Linked DNA regions of Homo sapiens: region 1 is linked to region 2. The links are contacts of gene promoters, found by promoter capture Hi-C in blood cells and fetal thymus (Javierre and others, 2016). All regions are on one chromosome and are shown on one strand. The core of a region is centred on a gene start or on the middle of the fragment in contact, and the rest is flanking DNA. Distances in the headings are between cores, read along the strand shown. Region 1 overlaps KRTCAP2 (keratinocyte associated protein 2). Region 2 holds the start of CHRNB2 (cholinergic receptor nicotinic beta 2 subunit).

Region 1 (2,988 bases), core at 308-2,807, 600 kb before region 2:
TGTGAACCCAGCTCACTGGAGCCTCTGCCTCCCAGGTTCAAGCGATTCTCCTGCCTCAGCCTCCCGAGTAGCTGGGATTACATGCGTGCGCCACCATAACTGGCTAATTTTTGTATTTTTGGTAGAGATAGGATTTCACCATGTTGGTTAGGCTGGTCTTGAACTCCTGACCTTAAGTGATCCACCCGTCTTGGCCTCCCAGAGTGCTGGGATTACAGGGGTGAGCCACTGTGCCTGGCTTTTCAGTTGCTTCTGAAAGAAACCATTGGCTGGGTGGGATGGCACACGCCTGTAATCCTAGCACTTTGGGAGGTGTAGGCTGGCAGATAGCTTGGGCCCAGGAATTCAAGACCAGCTTGGGCAACATAGAGAGACCCTGTCTCTCCAAAAAAATACAAAAATTAGCCGGGCATGGTGGTACGCACCTATAGTCCCAGGTACTCGGGAAGCTGAGGTGGGATGATCGCTTGAGCCCAGGAGATCAAGGCTGCAGTGAGCTGAAACTGCACCACTGCACTCCAGCCTGGGCGACAGAGTGAGATTCTGCCTCAAAAATAAAAAAAAATAATAAAAAAAGAAAAGATGCCATTGTGGTGGGGCAAAGTTCTTGGCCCACTTTGCCTTCTCTGCCCTCTCCACCTGGGCAGGTGGGGCCCTGTTTGTCTTTGCTTTTGTCCTCTCACCTTCTCTCCCATCATATTCCAGGTAACCTAAAATCCTTTCCTGCCCCCATGAAGAAGTAGATCCAAGCACTCTGCCCTCCAACCTGTGTCCAGGGAGCAAGGCCTTCAACTTCCACCACTGGTCACCCAGCTTAATGAATTGACTCTCATTGTCTGGCTTCTTTTGGAAAGGGTTTAACTGGGTTCCCCAAATGGGAACACACCTTGCCCTTCAGACTCTGTTGTCCATCACCTTTCCTTTTTCCTTTTATGGGAGGAAAGCCAGGGTAGGGAAGTTATGTGAGATATGGGGCAGAGCTGGTAAAAAAAAGCATACATCTACATCCATGTTCTTTTTTTTTTTTTTTTTTTTTGGAGACGGGGTCTCACTCTGTTGCCCAGGCTGGAGTGCAGTGGTGCGATCACAGTTCACTGCAACTTTGAACTTCCTGGCTCAAGGGTTCCTCCAACTTCAGCCTCCTGAATAGCTGGGACTACAGGCATGTGTACCACTGTACTACCTGGCTAAATTTTTTTTAATTCAATTTTTTTTTTTTTTAAGAGATGGGTCTCACTTTGTTGTTCAGGCTGGTCTCAAACTCCTGGGCTCAAGTGATCTGCCCACCTCAGCCTCCCGAAGTGCTGGGATTCCAGGTGCAAGCCACCACACTCAACCTCCTACCTCCATGTTCTGGGTATCATTAAGGTAATCAGAATCCTCCTGCTGTAGTCACGCTTACCCTTCTAAGCAGGTTCCCCAGGATTCAGAGAGCCCCGGATTTCTCCTGGACTCCATGTGCAGATGCCTAGTATTTCCATTCTGACCGTTGCCCTCCTTGTTCTTCTTGCCTCCCTAGTTCTCCTGTGCCTCCTGTTGGCTCTCTTTGCATCTGGCCTCATCCACCGAGTCTGTGTCACCACCTGGTATGTTCTTGACAGCTGGGTAAGGGGTGTAGCATTCCGTTTTTTGGCATTGGATCTTACTGTGATGGTGCCAGAGTTTTTCCTTCCACACCTACCTCTCTCTCTGTTCTCCCTCCCCGTTTTCCTAAACTTGAACTTGGATTCTTTCCTTGATGCTAGTGTCTTCCCTAGGAGGCACCAGGCTGGCAGATGCCCACTGGTGCCATGACCTTTCTGTCTTCACCATATAGCTTCATCTTCTCCATGGTTGGTCTGTACTACATCAACAAGATCTCCTCCACCCTGTACCAGGCAGCAGCTCCAGTCCTCACACCAGCCAAGGTCACAGGCAAGAGCAAGAAGAGAAACTGACCCTGAATGTTCAATAAAGTTGATTCTTTGTAGCTCTGTGAGTTGTGATATGTTGTGGGTGTCATCTACCAGTATCCAGCTTAGATGTACAGAATGTTAAGACATTTGGGCACCTTCTGTTTTCAGACCTTGGGAATAGTGAGGCTTTCCTTCCTCCCACATTAATTTTTACCAGTTATCTGTTGAATACTGTCAGTGCCACTGGAGTGGCATATACTTGTGTGAGTCTCATCATGGAAGAAAAGTACATGAATGTTCTGCAGTCGTGTTCTTTGGGGAAAGGGGTAAAGGCTGCAATGCAGGAAGTCCTGTCCGTCAGTACCAGAAGGGATCTTGGAGCAAAAGAGTAAAGGAAGGAAAGGTCCCGTATACCTACACTGTTTCACGGGGTTCCACGTGGTATCTTTGCCACTCCAGCTCCCTGCCTTAAGCAAATCAGCCCCCTGCTGCAAGTGCATAGGTGGGACTTCTCTCCTGATGCTGTCCCTGGGACCTATCTGTTCTACTTCAGCATGAACATATGGCTGTGTTTAGAAAGACTCCCCAGGTGATCAACTGCTCCTAGCCTGTTTGTTCTGGTGCTTTCATTTTTTCCCCATCTTGTAGCCAAGACAATGGGAACTTCCTAAATTGTAGCGAAGTATATAAAACAATAGGAGCAAGGACACCAACCTCTGAGCCCACCTTGATGGAAATGCAGGTGGCTACTTGCACCCTGCCCTGTCTGTGCTCTGTCATGAGGAACAACTCTATGCAGAGTGCCCGTCCTAGGTGCCGTCCCTCGTGCTGAATGGCGTGTGTTTTAGGGTATACACCTCATCTTGGTCAGCTTTGTTTTTTCCAGAGCCTGATAATGGACAATAAAGACTGGTGGGTTGGGCCAGCCATGGTGGCTCAAGCCAGTAATCCCAGCACTTTGGGAGGCTGAGGTGGGTGGATCACTTGAGGTCAGGAGTTTGAGACTAGCCTGGCCAACATGGGGAACCCCATCTCTATGAAAAATGCAAAAATTAGCCAGGTGTGGTGGTGTGTGCCTGTAGTCCCAGCTACT
Region 2 (2,826 bases), core at 185-2,684:
TCTGCAAGGATTCATGGAGACCTGCTCTTCCCCCAAAGTCTCAGAGGGCAGTTTGAGATTTCTGCTTCCATGGCTTCCCCAGCAAATACCTATGACTCAAGGGAGGTTTAGCAGGGCAGTGAAGGTGAACAGTTATTTGTCCCAGTTATTTGTGTCCCACCACACACATCCTTTCTCCTGCCGATTGAGGAGAAAGTGTATGTGTGGTGGGACACAAATAACTGTTCCCGTTCACCATTTACATGTGCAAATGACATTATGTGCCTCACGTAATGACATGTGACTGTGGTCACGATGCCATCCTCCCCTCTCCCTAAAGGCACTGGGTTGGAGTGGAATAGCTGGGCTGCCTAAGCTGTGGGTCAGGCATATATGTAGCCCCAAGTTTCACACACACAGCAGCCCACCCCTAGAGGTGGCCTGTAGGTGTGGAAAGCTCATTCAGTTGTGCATTCCCTTTGTACCTGCCCCTCCCCGGCACACTGCATCCCCCTCTGCAACTCTGCACGAACACACCCCTCCCCATCCCCTCAGAGAGTTCCTTCCTAGTCCTCAGCCTGGCAGAGCTTCTTCCCTTCCAAGCCTCCTGTCCCACCCTACAGGAGGGTTGAAAAGTCCGTTCCGTTTTCTCCCCTTCTCTGCCCCTGAGGGGTGACGAGAATCTGGAGCCCAATGTGGGGGATGGGAAACGATGGGGAGCCCGGGGAGGGGTGCTGGTCCAGGTACCTTTCTTGAGATAATGTTTCACAAAAAGTCAGATGGCATCTTAGCGCCCTCAGAGCCGGCCTCCTGCCACCCCAGGACGCCTGGGGAGATCCCCTGCCTCCTTGCTCTCTGTGCCTGCACCACCCCTACCACCGCTGGCCAGGTTTCCATCTCTTTCTTGCTTCACTTACTCCTTCGAGTATGTCTCGTTCCCAGTCCAGCCTCCCAGGTGCTCTCTGCAGTCCCGGGGGGCTCTCCCCTAACCTCCAGCAGACTCCCCCACCTCTAGGGAATCCCTTCTTCCACCTTCCGGCCTAGCAGGGGTGAGTCAGAGGGCGGCGAGTCTTGGGCCGTTGGCTGGGGTAGGAGAACCTGGCCAGTGCCCGTCTTTCCCTTACCTGAGCACAGCCGGAGGAGGCCGAAGCCAAGGAGCAGCGCCACGGGGCCGCAGCGCCGGGCCATGCCGCGGGCATAGCTCGCTGCCTCGCCTACACCGGCTGGAGCGCGCCGCCGGGGGGAGGGCCGCGGGTGGGGCGCTGTCCGTGGTGCTGAAGCCGCGCCCGCCTGGAGCTGGGTCCAGGTGGTGCCGGCCGCCGCGGTGGTTCCTGGGCCTCAGGGAGCCGGCTGCGAGGAGAAACCAGCTTCTTGCCTATCCTGGTATGAGCAGGCGGAGGCTTTTCCGGCTGCTCTTCCAGGGAATACAATTGGGACGGTGAGGGGGAGGAGTCTGCGCCCCGGAGGCGGAAACGCTGGGTCCCAGGAAAAAAAAGGGGGGTCCCCGGCTGGGATAGTCTTCGATTGGTTCTGCCGTGGTAGGGTGTGCGTGAGGTGGAAGAAGGGCTGTTCCTCCACGGCACGGTGGAGGAGTTCTGAAGTCCTAAAGTTGGGGCAGGACCTGCAGCATGGTCGGAGAAGGGGCAAGAGGCCCGGCGGGAAGAAGCAGCAAGAGTAAGACAAGTAGGTCAGGGCCTGCTTAGTACTGAGGGCCAGACGGCCAGAACGAGCGTCGGGAGACAGGAGGAGTGTCCGGGGTTTTCGCCCTCCTTTTTTCTCTTACCAAACCCAAATGGTCCTGCTCCCCAGGTAGGCTGAGGATACAGCAGAGAAAATGTGTTTAGCCCCTTAAAGAGATAGGGGGCTGTGGGTTTGCTATTTTTAAGAAAGCAAACGGCTTTGGAGTCTAAAAGGCTAAGCTTCCTGCCCTCCCACTGAGGGTCTACCTGAGGAGGTCTAGACTTGCCTGCAAAGAAGGTAGACTTGAGGGTAATAGTGGAAAGACAAGTAGCCCCTATTCATCGGCCTTCCTCACCCCCTTCTCTTGACTCCAGCTGTTGGCTTCTGTGTGACTAGGGAGATCAGAGACCACTCACAGAGGCCTGATCAAGAGAGAAGCTAACACAAAGGAGACCAAAGATGAGAACCCTGAACTCTTAGCCCCTTTTTTTCCTTCAGTGGGTTCGTTGTCACTTTCAACCAAAAGATTCCTGACTAAAGCAGACTTAGCATACAGCAAGGCTCTGTCCTGTTTTGTCCCTGCTTACTTCAACCTCATCTGGGTCACTCCACCCCCAGCTCCACATTCCAACTATTGGCAAGGTCTTCAGGATCCTTGAACATCTTATCCGTCCCATCATCCCCCACACTTCAGGGACTTAAATGCATGGTTCTCTTGGGCTCTTTTATAACCCATGTTCCCCTCATCACCTTCTACTTAACTTTGAGCATTTGGCAGGAATGTCAATTCCTTAAGGAAGCTGCGCCTGACCAAGAACTAGATCAGATACTTTGTTATATGTTTCCAGAGCATGTCCAATGAATAAATGAATCCACCTGAGGCAGTGGCTGCCTCTCTAGATTATGAATCAACACAGTGCCTGGCATATTATTATAAGGGCTCAACAGGTAAGGAAAAGGGCTAGTACTGGACTGACACTTTTTAATGTGTAGGGAAAATTTCTCTCTAAAAGCTCAGCTAGGGACCAGGAGAGGTGACTTAAGCCCGTAATCTCAGCACTTTCAAAGGCTGAGGCAGAAGGATCACTTGAGCCCAGGCGTTTGAAACCAGCCTGGGCAACATAATGAGATCACGTGTGTACAAAAAGTTTAAAAATTAGTCGGGCA

The links. Contacts are between HindIII fragments. The CHiCAGO score rates a contact against its expected background, and 5 or more counts as called.
Region 1: a fragment that was not itself captured here is called in contact with the fragment with the promoter of CHRNB2 in region 2 in 1 of 17 cell types (total B cells); the score reaches 5.4 in total B cells.

The regions. Positions count from the first base shown.
Region 1 is chr1:155,168,389-155,171,376 of GRCh38, reverse strand. KRTCAP2 (keratinocyte associated protein 2) reads left to right here. Exons shown (of 5, transcript NM_173852.4): 4 at 1,520-1,586; 5 at 1,817-1,969. The coding sequence ends at 1,937. Among named protein-coding and RNA genes, the nearest start is that of KRTCAP2, 3.4 kb to the left of the region's middle. The HindIII fragment of the contact is 6,676 bases long and covers 1-2,988 here.
Region 2 is chr1:154,566,386-154,569,211 of GRCh38, reverse strand. It overlaps CHRNB2 (cholinergic receptor nicotinic beta 2 subunit), which reads right to left and starts at 1,434. Exons shown (of 6, transcript NM_000748.3): 1 at 1,104-1,434. The coding sequence starts at 1,167. LOC107985206 (a long non-coding RNA gene) reads left to right here and starts at 1,495. Exons shown (of 2, transcript XR_001738238.3): 1 at 1,495-1,788. RefSeq lists a silencer at 1,134-1,263. The HindIII fragment of the contact is 2,216 bases long and covers 1-1,900 here.